3 separate regions of the Homo sapiens genome follow, and all the other regions are linked to region 1. The links are contacts of gene promoters, found by promoter capture Hi-C in human tissues and cell types (Jung and others, 2019). All regions are on one chromosome and are shown on one strand. Each heading gives the region's core, a stretch centred on a gene start or on the middle of the fragment in contact. The rest is flanking DNA. Distances are from core to core; before and after follow the strand shown. Region 1 holds the start of CIB1 (calcium and integrin binding 1). Region 2 has its middle 32 kb from the start of FURIN. Region 3 holds the start of PLIN1 (perilipin 1).

Region 1 (4,559 bases), core at 652-3,151:
ATAATTCTGCCAGGTGATTTTGGTAAAGTCCTTGCCCCTAGAAAATCAGAACTAAGCAGAAAAATGACCAGAGTGGGGACCAGTGACCCCATGATCCCAAAGCTAGTGGCAGATGGAGTTAGGGGGTCTAGCAGGGAGGGAGTGGTGGGAGAGGTGTCAAAGGAGGGGAGCGCTTGCACCTTGAGCTCTGGAAGGCTGAGAATCTGCTCGAAGGGCACTTGTGCCCGAAGTGACGACTCCACGCTCCGCTGCTCCTGGGGAAGCAGCTCACAAAACCGCCTGTGGGCTCTGGTAGAGAGAGGGGAACTGTCGGTGTTCTCAGCGATCGGTCTCCCTGTGTGTTCATTCCCACTCCTTGCCTGCTGCTCATTGTCAACCAGGTGAGGAGCTAAAACCACGTACACAGAACTTCCGAGTCATCAGGCAACGGTAAGCAAAAGGACATGTCACAAGGCAGTACAGCCTAGGAGTCTATTCTTGCAATGAGTATTTACTGAGCATTTACTATGTGCTTGGCACTGATTCTAGAGATCCCCAAGGGATGAAGAAGTTGGGAAAGGAGCCAGAAGTTGGCCCTAAAGAATTGGCCAGGCACGGTGGCTCACACCTGTAATCCCAGCACTTTGGGAGGCCAAGGCGGGCGGAGCTTTGGAGGTCAGGCGTCTGAGACCAGTCTGAGCAACATGGTGAACCCCTTCTCTACTAAAAATACAAAAATTAGCCGGGCATGGTGGCGGGTGCCTATAATCCCAGCTACTCAGGAGGCTGAGGCAGGAGAATCACTTGAACCCGGAGGCAGGAGAATCACTTGAACCCGGAGGCAGAGCCTGCAGTGAGCCAAGATCGTGCCCCAGCACTCCAGCCTGGGCGACAGAGCGAGACGCTGTCTCAAAAAAAAAAAAACGGAGAAAAGAGCAAAACCAAAAATCTCATTCTCACCTTCACTCCAGGGATCTCTTACCCTCAAAGCCTCCTTTTTAGCAACCACACTGAACTGTCCTCCTCGGCCTCCACCTCCTTCCCATGAGCTTATCTTTGCCACAGGAACCTGGCCTGCATAAATCCGGCAAAAGGGCTTCCAGCCCAAGTTCAAATCTACTTACTCAGAGTGTTGTCTTAAGCAGTTACCAAACCTTTCTGAACCTGTTTCATTGTCCAGTACCTCTCTCCTAAAGATTAAATTAGGTAACGCAGGCAACCATTTAGCACAGTCCCTGGCACATGGTGAGTGCTCAGAAAGCGATAACGGTTACTGTATTATTCAGGTAAAGTTGGGAGAAGGAGCCGGGCTCCCCAAGGCTTCTGTGGTTTAGCCACTGGGCAAGGTCGGCCCCTGCCGGACTGGGGCAGGAAGTTCGGCAGTGCTGAAGCTAGTGGAGCCCAGGGTCAAAGAGCGCCTAACTTTTCCTGGAGGCTGTAAGGTGGCTCCGCGGTGCCACGCTGGGGCCTCAGGCGAGGGCGGGGAGGGCGTGCCGGGAGGAGGGCGCAGCCCGGGCTAGGTCTCCCGGCCTCCAGCTCCCGCTCCTCTGCAGACCTCAGGCCAGCCCCCGCCCCTCCCTCGGGACAGCGCCCCCGAAGCTGTCTCTAGAGGATCCCGGGGTCGGAGGCAGGGTTCAAGGCAGCACTTACAGGAGGATCTCCTGCTTCGTCAGGAACGTCAAGTCCTGGAAGGCAAAGCCAGAGCGGGGATTAGCGGACCGCTGGGAGGCCGCGGCCGCCCCGCAGCCAGCTCCCGGACCCTGCTCCCGAGAAGAGGCCCGCACGCGAGCTCCCCAGGGCCAGGCGTCCCGCGCACCTGGTACTCGGCCAGCAGCTCCTTGGACAGGCGACTGCCCGAGCCCCCCATCGCCCCGCCGCGCGCACAGCTCCGCCAACTCGCCTCGAGACGCAGACAACTTTCTCACTTCCGCCCTTGGGCCGCGTCACTGCCCGGTCCCCGCGGCAACCGCTCCTGGGGCCACCACCCCCGGGCCCGCCCCCTCCTAAAAGCTGCCAGGCGTTCCCAGCCGGGTTTGGCAGGCGAGCTGCCGGCTCCAAGCGGTCCTAGGCGAGCTGGAGGCGGGGCCCGGGGAGGGGCCCGACGCTCCGGGGCGGAGCCCGGGACTCACGGCCCCGCCTCCGGGGTGGGAGGGGGGGGCGGGCCACGCCGCGCGCGTGCGTGCTGGCTGCGTATGCGTCACGGGCGTCATGACCTCGCTGTGGCCCCGGCAGCGGCTGCGGGGAAAGTCGCGAGGTGCATCCGCTTCGGCTGCAGTAGGTGGTGGCGGCGGCAGCCCTGGGTGGGGTCCCATAGGGGCATCTGAGAAGTCACTGGAGCTAGCGTTTCCGGGAAACCTGGAGACTCGCTGAGTGGCGGGGGTCGTCGGCTGCCCCTCTGCCCAGCAAGGGCTTTTCTAGATGTTATCATCAGGCAATCGCTGCACCTGTCGCAGCCCCCAAGCCACCTCTTCCAGAAGTAACCATAACCTTGCTTCCTTCTTAGGCTATTTACTGAGGACCCACTGGATGTCAAGCATTGTGCATAGTTTTCTTCGATTGTTGCAACATCCCTTGCGAGGTAGGTTCCCATTTTACAAAGATGGAAATACGTAAGTCCAAAGGGTGTTAGTGATTTTTCCGGGCGCCGGCATTTAGAAGGTAATCGGTCCAGTCCAAGGCACTTTTAAAGGCTCTCCACTGCTGTTCTCATCATTCCAGCTGACCTGCCGTCCTTTTGACTCCATCTCACCCCTAGACTGCTGACCCTTTGCTCTTGTCCCCTCTTAACCTCTAGGATAATGTTTGGCACATAGTAGGCTCTCAGTAAATATTATCGAATGCATAATAAATGAATGAACGTATACTATTGCAAAAGGTAAGGATTCCAAACTGCTGGGAGGAGGAAGTGGAGGTTGTGTTGGTCAGGCTGGGATTAATTCTTGATCCTTCCAATCCATTATACTTGCTGATCTTTGTAAAGTCTAAATCTGAGTATGTTAGTCTCAGTTTATAACCATTAAATGGTTAAAAACCCAAATCCTGGCCCTCTGTAACTGGACTTCCTCCTATTGGCTCTCTGTCTTTCAGCCACTTTGGGCCCTCAGTCCCTCTTCCATCTCATCCTCAGGGAAGCCTTTCCTGACTCCCTAGACTGCCTAGGAATCTACTTTACACTGGAAGAATACCCAGTGCTCTCCTTGGCAGCATGTGTTTGATAAGACACACTGTATTAACAGGTACATTCCATCATTGTAGAAATATTCAAGGCCAGGCGCGGTGGCTCATGCCTGTAATCTCAGCACTTTGGGAGGCTGAAGCAGGCGGATCATTTGAGGCCAGGAGTTCAAGACCAGCATGGCCAACATGGCAAAACCCCATCTCTACTAAAAATACAAAAATTAGCCAGACATGGTTAAACCTGGGAGCTGGAGGTTGCAGTGAGCGGAGATTGTGCCACTGCAGTCCAGCCTGGGCAACAGAGTGAGACTCTGTCTCAAAAAATAAAAATAAAAAAAAATAACTAGGGTATAGGCCCATCCCAACCTGATCATTTTTCTCTTTTTTTTTGAGACAGAGTCTCGCTGTGTCGCCTAGGCTGGAGTGCAGTGGCATGATCTTGGCTCACTGCAAGCTCCGCCTCCTGGGTTCACGCCATTCTTCTACCTTAGCCTCCCCAGCAGCTGGGACTACAGGCACCCGCCACCACACCCGGCTAATTTTTTTGTATTTTTGGTAGAGACGGGGTTTCACCCTGTTAGCCAGGATGGTCTGGATCTCCTGACCTCGTGATTCGCCCACCTCGGCCTCTCAAAGTGCTGGGATTACAGGCGTGACCCACCGTGCCCGGCCGATCATTTTTCTCTTAATAGCAGGCTCTTTCTGTCCGAGAAAGAGTTAGTCTTCTGTTAGTAAAAGCTTAGGCAAAAAGCAAGAAGCTGTCATTATGTCTCCTGTACTAAATAGACCTTGTTTGCCTCTTACAAGCCAAGGCGAATACCTGGACTGCATGGTAATAAGTATCTGTCTTCTTTTTTTTTGAGACAGAGTTTCACTCCTGTTGCCCAGGCTGGAGTGCAATGGCATGATCTCAGCTCACCGCAACCTCCGCCTCCTGAGTTCAAGCAGTTCTCCTGCCTCAGCCTCCTGAATAGCTCGGATTACAGGCATGTGCCACCACACCCAGCTAGTTTTGTATTTTTAGTAGAGACGGGGTTTCTCCATGTTGGTCAGGCTTGTCTCGAACTCCCAACCTCAGGTGATCGCCTGTCTTGGCCTCCCAAAGTGCTAGGATTACAGGCGTGCGCCACTGCACCCAGCCATAAGTATCTCTTTATAGTGAAGACATGAGAGTCAGCTTTGTGCCTGGTGACCAGCTGTGATCTAGATCTCTCAGTCACTTCACTTGGCTCTGAACCCTTCATGGAACAACCTTTGGTTTTCATTTTGCTTCCTGATTCATTTTGTACACTGACCAGCCAGCAAGAACCTTTTGTGCCATTTGGCATATTTCTCATTGTAAATTATTTTTATTTGTGAGATGGAGTCTCACTCTGTCACCAGGCTGGAGTACAGTGGTATGA
Region 2 (4,559 bases), core at 879-3,378, 600 kb after region 1:
GAACCATAGCACCTGATCTGCCTTTTTTTTTTTTTCTGTTAAACTCAAGTAAAATAGAATATATTTAGTTTAAAATAGAACTGGTACGGTGCAATCTAATCTAAAATTGTTTGGACTTACCTTTCTCTGAACTGCAGGGGCAGAAGGAGGGTGATCCCTTTTCTCCCCATGTAAAGGGTCATGACCGGCACCTCTATTACAAAAATCAAGTTAACAAGAGAAAAAAGAACAGGCTTATTACATGCACATGAGACATGCAAAATATGAACTCAAAGAGGGGCCAGAAGGTTGAGGAGAGGAAAAATGGAGAAATGAATAGGCTCAGTGCTCAGACAGTGGTTAGCAAATGACTGGGAGCTGAGTGGGACAAGTTATGGGAAGGTGAGGGCGGAACTGCAAAGGAACAAAAGTTGGATTTGTTTGTTTGTTTGTTCGTTCTGAGACAGAGTTTCACTCTTGTTGCCCAGGCTGGAGTGCAATGGTGCGATCTCGGCTCACTGCAACCTCCGCCTCCCAGGTTCAAGCAATTCTCTTGCCTCAGCCTCCCGAGTAGCTGGAACTACAGGCACGTGCCACCATTCTCGGCTAATTTTTTGTATTTTCAGTAGAGATGGGGTTTCACCATGTTGGCCAGGCTTGTCTCAAACACTCTTTACCTCAGGTGATCCACTCGCCTCGGCCTCCCAAAGTGCTGGGATTACAGGCATGAGCCACTGCGCCCGGCCGAGACAACCACAATTCTTTTATTGTTGTTGTTTTTTGAGATCGGAGTCTCCCTATGTTGCCTGGTCTGGTCTCAAACTCCTGGGCTCAAGTGATCCTCCAGTCTCAACCTCCTAAATAGCTGGGATTATAGGTGCATGCTGCTGTACCTGGTTTTGCAATTCTTTTGGAAAGAAACTTTCTTAGTCAGATAAGGAATTCCAGGAAGAGTCCCTCCCTCCACTCGGGGGTAGGGAGGGTACAAGACAAGGTTAGGCAGCTTTGCAGTCCTCAGCATGTCAGAGCCCCAGTCTGGGGTATCACTTTCTGAGCCCCAACCTTCCTATCCCTCTTCATCTCTCCAAACTTCTCTGTGTAGGTGGCATTCCCCAAGGTTAACACGAATAACGGGCTATAGTAAGCATGTACTGAGCACCAGAAGTTTTAGGTGCAGCAGAGAACAGAGCCGATGAAACCCCTGCCTTCATGAAGATATCATTCTTTTTCTTTCTTTCTTTCTTTTTTTTTTTTTGAGACGGAGTCTCACTCTGTCGCCCAGGCTGGAGTGCAGTGGCACGATCTCGGCTCATTGCAACCTCCACCTCCTGGGTTCAAGCAATTCTCTGCCTCAGCCTCCCGAGTAGCTGGGATTACAGGCACCCGCCACCACGCCCAGCTAATTTTTGTATTTTTAGTAGAGACGGGGTTTCACCATCTTGGCCAGGCTGGGCTTGAACTCCTGACCTTATGATCCACCCTCCTCAGCCTCCCAAAGTGCTGGGATTACAGGTGCAAGCCAATGCACCCGGCCTGAAGATATCATTCTAATGGGAGGAGTTTGTTACTTCCTTCTTTGTACTTTTCTGAATTGCTTGTTTTGTTTGAGAGTTAGCATATATCTTTTTTTTTTTTTTTTTTTGAGACAGAGTCTCTCTCTGTCGCCCAGGCTGGAGTGTGGTGGCATGATCTCGGCTCACTGCAACCTCCACCTCCCAGGTTCAAGCAATTCTCCTGCCTCAGGTGCCTGAGTAGCTGGGATTACAGGTGCACGCCACCACGCCTAGACAATTTTTTTGTGTGTGTATTTTTAGTAGAGACAGGGTTTCATCATGTTGGCCAGGCTGGTTTCAAACTCCTGACCTCAAGTGATCCACCTGCCTCGGTCTCCCAAAGTGCTAGGATTACAGGCGTGAGCCACTGCACCCAGCCAGCATACATCTTTTTTTTTCTTTTCCTGAGATGGACTCTTACTCTGTCGCCCAGGCTGGAGTGCAGTGGTGTGATCTTGGCTCACTGTAACCTCCGCCTCCTGGGTTCAAGCAATTCTCCTGCCTCAGCCTCCCAAGTAGCTGAGATTATAGGCACGCGCCACCATGCCTGGCTGATTTTTGCATTTTTAGTAGAGACAGCATGCGCCACCGTGCCAGGCCATATATCATTTTTATAAAAACAAAGGCCGGGCGCGGTGGCTCCTGCCTGTAATCCCAGCACTTTGGGAGGCCTAGGCAGGTGGATCACCTGAAGTCAGGAGTTTGAGACCAGCCTGACCAACGTGAGGAAACCCTGTCTCTACTAAAAATACAAAAATTAACCAGGCGTGGTGGTGGGCGCCTGTAATCCCAACTACTTGGGAAGCTGAGGCAGGAGAATCACTTGAACCCAGGAGGTGTAGGAGGTTGCAGTGAGCCGACATCATGCCATGGCACTCCAGCCTGGGTGATGGAACAAGATTCCATCTCAAAAAAAAAAAAAAAAAAGAAAAAAGAAAACAATTTACCTTCACACACACATAAAACACATCCACGGAGGATGATTCTTCTGAACAGCTGGAGTTGGGAAGCACTACATTTGAAGCTGGATGAGTCATTGACACTCTTGTGTAAACAGGGTTTTCAGGAAGACAGCGTGGGGACCCAGAGTCTCTGGAGGTCCCAGCTAAAGATAAGATTCCCTGCGGAGCAGCTGACCCTGGGAAGAGCTGAAAAGGGAAGCTGGTTCCCCTGGGTTTTTAGGCTCTCTTGGAAGGAACAACCATCCAGGCTATCTCATGAGGCGCTCTTGCCAGAGATGCTTGTCCCAGTCCTGATCCTAAGCCCCTGCCTCGTTGGCATTGGTGAGCCCCGTAAGCCCCATCCACTTCCTCCCCCTCATCACCCACCTATCTCTTAAGCAGGGCCCTGACTCCTGCCCCGTCCACTGTGCCCTCACTCTGGCCACACAGGCCTGCCCACTGCCTATTTTTTTTTTTTTTTTGAGACAGAGTCTCACCCTGTCACCTAGGCTGGAGTGCAGTGGCACGATCTCTGCTCACTGCAACCTCTGCCTCCCAAGTTCAAGTGATTCTCCTGCCTCAGCCTTCCGAGTAACTGGGACTATAGGTGTGTGCCACCATGCCTGGCTAATTTTTGTATTTTAGTACAGACGGGGCTTCACCATGTTGGCCATGCTGGTCTCGAACTCCTGACCTCAAGTGATCTGCCGCCTCGGCCTCACAGAATGCTGAGTTACAGGCGTGAGCCACCACACCCAGCCGACCACTGCTTGGCTTTTGCAGGTGCTTTTACCTCCACCAGAATCTCCTCCTCGCCCCTAGGCTTCGAGGCCTCCTTTTCTGGAAGGCTTCCGTGACAGTCCAGACCACCTGGCTCTGCCTTGTTCCAGTGACTCAGAGGCTCAGAGCCGGCGAAGCCTTGGGGCCTTGCACCCGGGAGGCAGGAAGGCACACGGGCCCTGCCTACTGGGTGACCTTGGCCAAGTCCTTTGCCCTGGATGACTCTCTTTCCTCATCGGAAAGATAGGGGCATCATGAGCTGCTTGATAGGAATCAAGAAGATAACGTGTGAAATGTTAGCTATTTTTAGTTTCAGGTTTGTTGGAAAGAATGACAATGAGACGAGCTTACAGGAAGGGGGAATGAAAGGGGGAAATCAAGTCAGTAAGGGAAGAATGTGATAAAAAGCTTAAATGGAAATTTAAAAAACCTAACTTTTCTGGGAGGACGGAGGCTCCTTGTGGAGCCAGTTGAGGGTCTGTGGGGGTCATGGGGGCACCGTCAGACACTGTGGGAGATGCTGGACAGGGCTGGGTCCAGGCCTCCAGGCCCAGTGGGACCTCCCTTCTCAGCCCCCTTCTCTCTTTTTTTTTCCTTTGAGACGGAGTCTCACTCTGTCACCCAGGCTGGAGTGCAATGGCACAATCTCGGCTCACTACAACCTCCACCTCCCAGGTTCAAGCGCTTCTCCTGCCTCAGCCTCCCAAATAGCCAGGACTACAGGCATGTGCCACCACGCCCGGCTAATTTTTGTATTTTTAGTAGAGATGGGGTTTCACCATGTTGGTCAGGCTGGTCTTGAACTCCTGACCTCAGGTGATCTGCCCGCCTCGGCCTCCCAAAGTGCTGGGATTGCAGGCATGAGCCACCGCGCCCGGTTCAGCCCCCTTCTCTTTCAGCTCAGGCCCCCCTGCCCCTGCAGAGCCTTGGGAAGTGTCACCCCACACCAACTCCACCAGCTCCTACGAAAGCACCCCCAAATCATACCCTCTAGGCACCGCAGCAAAAGCAGCTTCAGGGCAATCCCCCAGCACAACCTCACCCCTTCCTGAGACTGGTGGGTGAGCTGAGGTCACCCGCCGCTGCCAGCAGGGCTGGGTAAATCTCGGAGCAGGCGGGGGCGAGGGCGGGGGCTGTCACCGCGGTGTTGCCTGACGCACCCTCCTCCCCAGCTCAGGAAATTGTGAGGTGAACTCTTCCCCTCCAGAGCGCTGTCTGCTGTGAAGGCGGCTCAGGCCCCCAACACACACATAGCAGGTGACAGGTAGGGCCCAAGCACTGGAGTCCCCGCTCCTCCCTGAAGACC
Region 3 (4,559 bases), core at 673-3,172, 550 kb before region 1:
AGGGAGGTCTCCATCCAGCAAGGTGAGGCCTTTGTTGACTGCCATCCTCGCTCCTCAAGCTGCAAAACAGAGTCCCAGGTCCCATCAGAAGCCCTCAGGCTTGAGCTCCACTGGGTCACTTCCCTACCTCTCATGGCCACCAACTAGGCCCAGGCTGCCTGGGGGCCCATTTGCCCTGAACAGAAGGCATTAGGTTGGAGGGTGAATATCACACACAATAGCCCCACTCCTTAGGGTCCCATAGCAATGAGTTGCTCCATAGCTTACTTGTCAAGACTGATGTTTCTTTCTTTTTCTTTTCTTTCTTTCTTTTTTTTTTTTTTTGAGATGGATTCTTGCTCTGTTGCCCAGGCTGGAGTGTAGTTGCACAATCTCGGCTCACTACAACCTCCGCCTCCCGGGTTCAAGGGATTCTCCTGCCTCAGCCTCCCAAGTAGCTGGGATTACAGGCGCCCACCACCACGCCCGGCTAGTTTTTTTTTTTTTTTCTGTTTAGTAGAGATGGGGTTTCACCATGTTGGCTAGGCTGGTGTCGAACTCCTGACCTCAAGTGATCCACCTGCCTAGACCTCCCAAAGTGCTGGGATTACAGGCATGAACCACCACACTGGCTAATTTTTGTATTTTTAGTAGAGATGGGGTTTCATCATGTTGGCCAGGCTGGTCTCGAACTCCTGGCCTCAAGTGATCTGCCCACCTTGGCCTCCCAAAGTGCTGTGATTACAGGCAAGAGCCACCATGCCCGGCCAAGAATAATGTTTCCTATAAGAGTTCAGGTTAAGAGGCCAGGCGCGGTGGCTCAGGCCTGTAATCCCGGCACTTTGGGAGTCCAAGGCAGGCAGATCACCTGAGTTCAGGAGTTCAAGACCAGCCTGGGCAACATGGTGAAACTCCGTCTCTGCTAAAAATACAAAAATTAGCCAGACGTGGTGGTGGGCAGCTGTAATCCCAGCTACTTGGGAGGCTGAGGCAGGAGGATCGCTTGAGCCTGAGAGGTGGAGGTTGCAGTGAGCTGAGATCCTGCCACTGCACTCCAGCCTGGGTGACAGAGGGAGACTCTGTCTCAAAAAAAAAAAGGAGTTCAGGTTAGGAAATAAAAAATGCAGGTAGCCATAAGAGATAAAAAGTTTTAGATAAAATCTTAAGGCTCTTAAATGAGGGTCCAAAAGAGACTAAAACAAGAAGTTTCAAGCTGGGTGCACTGGCAAGCACCTGTAATCCCAGCTACTGAGGCTGACATGGGAGAATTGCTTGAGCCCAGGAGTTTGAGATCAGCCTCGGCAATACAGTGAGATGCCCATCTCTAAAAAAATAAATAAACAAGTTAAAGGTTTCATCTTTGAAAAGGCTCTGGGTTAATTCCTCTATTTCTCTCTTTCTCTCTGTCTGTCCCTCTCCCCCTCTCCCTATCTGTTTTTTGAGACAGGGTCTCAATCTGTTGCCCAGGATGGAATGTGGTGGCACGATCATGGCTCAATGCAGCCTTGACCTCCTGGGATCAAGGTACCCTCCCACCTCAGCCTCTCATGTAGCTGGGACTACAGGCATGCACCACAATGCAGGGCTAATTTTTTCTCTTTTTTTATAGAGACAGGATCCCACTGTGTTGCCCAGGTTGTTCTTGAACTCCTGGGCTCAAGTGATCCACCTGCCTTGGCCACCTGCAGTGCTGGGATTAAAGGCATGATCCACTGTGCCTATCCAATTCCTCTATTTCTAGATTCTGGTATCTATACCAGAATCTCTCCCTCAGTAGTTTCCCTGCAGAGTTTTTCATCCCCAGCAAAATCCCCAAGAGGCCCTTACCTTCAACTTCTTCCCTTTAATGTTCATAAACAAGCCATGTAAGGCAGGTGCCCCAGGACCCCAACACTCACTCCGGCTGACCGCCACCTCAGTCTCACAGAGCCCAGGCTGCAGAGTGTCTCCTCAGGCAGAAACAATTCCTGTCACTCCTGGGAGGCTTGGGCAATGCTGCTTCCACCTCCCAGCTAGAGGAGGGCAGAGAGGGAGAGACAACAGGGTCAGCCAGTTGTCATGGTTATATGACCCAGGGTTCCCCAGGCATATCCTAACTTCTCTAAGGACATTTAGCAAACAAGGAGGTAGGTGGCAGAGCTGAAGGAGATCCAGGCTCAGAGGACTTAGTATTCCAGAGCCATGAAGCATCAGTTCTGTAATGTTCCTGCCCTCAATTCACAAAAATCTGCTTTCCAGAAAGAAGGTATAGGGATAGACATCATTAAACTCAAAAGCTCTAAAGTTCTATATACCTCTGCAATCTTTTGGCTCCTTTTCCATAGAGGGTCTTGTGGGAGTTTTCAATCCATTTCTCTCATCTTTTCTTATTTACTAGCAAGACTGAATGCTGAACAGTAAAATTTAAACCCACACAGAAGAGTTCATCTGAATGTATTCATCTTTGATTATGGAGATAAATTGCCCTCAGTGAAGAAGCGACAGAGCCGGGAGTTGAGTTTTTGACAATATAGCCTTTGAGTTGAGGGAGGAATTCCCACTTCTTAGAATTCAAAAAAATTTATTGAACTTTACCTGGCCTAAGATGCTACCAGAATGAAGAGTAGGAGAGCCAAGTAGATTTTTATTCTCCTGGGTCTGGATAAGCGACAGTGTTGACTAGGATTCTATCACTAATCAAGAGCACCCAGACAGCCAAGAATTAGCACCACTCAACCCTTCTTTACCCAGGACTCAAGCACAAGCCCAAGTTCTAGTTCCTGGCTTTAGATATGATGGAGGACTATGGTATAAGCCATAGCTTTCAGATTAACTAAGAAGGGCCTCTTCATGAAAACAGACAATAGGAAAACAAAACTTATTTTCTTTGTTGCTGGTGGAATTATATGTATTGTTGACTCTGTTAAGTCACACAGTGTGGGCAAGAGAAGAAAGAGGCAGGGGTGGGGAATTATGAAAGATCCTTGGTAATAAATTACGTATCTGTGATGCAATAAAGTAGGGAATGAGAAGGCAGGAAAGGGAGGAGTCAAGCAGGGAGGCTTCAAAGGAGTAATACGCTATACGTTTAATACTTATTGATCCAACCTGTGCTTTTCAAATGTAAGGCAGTAGAGAAGACAAAGTATTTAAAGAAGTGGCCTCTGCCCTCACCTCAAGGTTCAGCACAAATTATCTGTGAGGCTGTGACTGGACAGCAACCTGAGCCAAAGGGCAGTTTTCAGCCTTCAGAGTAGTGGCTTTGGGCCAGAGGGAACATAGGGCTTTGTGCCTGAAAGCTCTGCCAAATCAAATAGTCCTTTGGCTGCTTTAGCTGGGAGTGCAGAATGTGGGTGAGAGGTGAGAAGTGGTGAAAGGGCCTAGGAGAGTCCCGAGGGAAGACAGAAGTGTTAGTTTTCTAGCAGTAGCTTGCAGGGCATAGAGTTCTATCTTCTTTCCTTCTCCGTACCTACCTGCTTTCCCTACCCCTCCACCAAGTGAGAGCAGGGACCTAGGTCATCTTGCTCACAAGTGGATACCCAAAACCATGCATGGCACTCAAACATTCATTGTTGAATAAATGAATTGTCAGGCAACAATGCTCAGTTGTGAATGTGCTGGGCTGTACATCTACGAAGAACTTCTTCGATTTTTGGCATCCCTCATGAATGTGGAGGCTCTGGGGTGGAAAACATTAGTTACAAAGAAGGATTCACAGGGTGGTACCAGGACACCATTAAGGTTTACACAAACCTCTTAGAAGAGGTAGTATTTCCCAAACTCCCCACCACTCACCATTGCAGAGGACAAAAGTACCAAGATGGATACCACTGTAACATAACATACCACCATGAATTCAAGGCAGACTTACCTAGGCAGAAGCCAGCCAGCGATTGACAGGGCTACTGTAGAGCACCATCTCCATGGCAGCAGTCTAGATGAGTTCATTTCAGAGGTCCCTCTCAACCCAGAGGCTCTACATCTCAATCTTTCTCCATCCTCCTCCTCAGCCTGGATCTTCTAGCCCAGAGCTCGCTGTACCAACTGTGTAGGCTGATTGAGGATTATCTGATGGATTGCCTTATGTTTAACTCTTCTCTCTTCCCAGAACACACTCACAGACACAAGTCAATTTTGTCTAGAAATTTATTGAACATAGTTAATCTATTACAGTAGAGGATCTGGACAATAAAAATAGTTATTTAAGCTTTTTATTTTCCCTGACCTAGTAGCTTTCATGTCTCTTAAAATTCCCTAAATTTTATTTCTCAAATCCCATATCGTGATTGGTTAAACAGACAGCCAAGAATCTGAGTCTATTTTTTGAGAATCTCAATCACATTTCTGGGAAATGTGACTTATTGAGTACATATTTATTTTCTCATTTCCATTCAGATAAATGACACAGCTTTGCTGGGAGGACTGACATCGGCCTCCTACCTGCTGGCATCCTATTTCTCTACCTCACCTCCCTCAAACTAAAGGATCTGTAACCACATATAAAGACCCACACCCAAGATGGCAGATAGGAACACAAGTCAATGTCATTGACTCAGCATTCCATTGTCCTCTTCACTGGCTTCCTCCTGCGCTTTCCACCT

What was found. Contacts are between HindIII fragments. The study calls those that stand out against the background at their distance.
Region 2: a contact is called between a fragment that was not itself captured here and the fragment with the promoter of CIB1 in region 1, in 1 of the 25 tissues and cell types used here (lymphoblastoid cells).
Region 3: a contact is called between the fragment with the promoter of PLIN1 here and the fragment with the promoter of CIB1 in region 1, in 2 of the 25 tissues and cell types used here (heart left ventricle and mesenchymal stem cells).

Annotation. Positions count from the first base shown.
Region 1 is chr15:90,232,040-90,236,598 of GRCh38, forward strand. It overlaps CIB1 (calcium and integrin binding 1), which reads right to left and starts at 1,902. Exons shown (of 7, transcript NM_006384.4): 1 at 1,796-1,902; 2 at 1,630-1,664; 3 at 180-288. The coding sequence starts at 1,846. GDPGP1 (GDP-D-glucose phosphorylase 1) reads left to right here and starts at 2,170. Exons shown (of 4, transcript NM_001013657.3): 1 at 2,170-2,253; 2 at 2,483-2,557. RefSeq lists silencers at 1,395-1,844, 1,865-2,304. The HindIII fragment of the contact is 18,702 bases long and covers 1-4,559 here.
Region 2 is chr15:90,833,905-90,838,463 of GRCh38, forward strand. No RefSeq gene overlaps it. Among named protein-coding and RNA genes, the nearest start is that of FURIN, 32 kb to the right of the region's middle. The HindIII fragment of the contact is 6,342 bases long and covers 1-4,559 here.
Region 3 is chr15:89,677,445-89,682,003 of GRCh38, forward strand. It overlaps PLIN1 (perilipin 1), which reads right to left and starts at 1,923. Exons shown (of 9, transcript NM_002666.5): 1 at 1,807-1,923; 2 at 1-59. The coding sequence starts at 45. It overlaps PEX11A (peroxisomal biogenesis factor 11 alpha), which reads right to left. Exons shown (of 3, transcript NM_003847.3): 3 at 4,091-4,559. The HindIII fragment of the contact is 12,360 bases long and covers 1-4,559 here.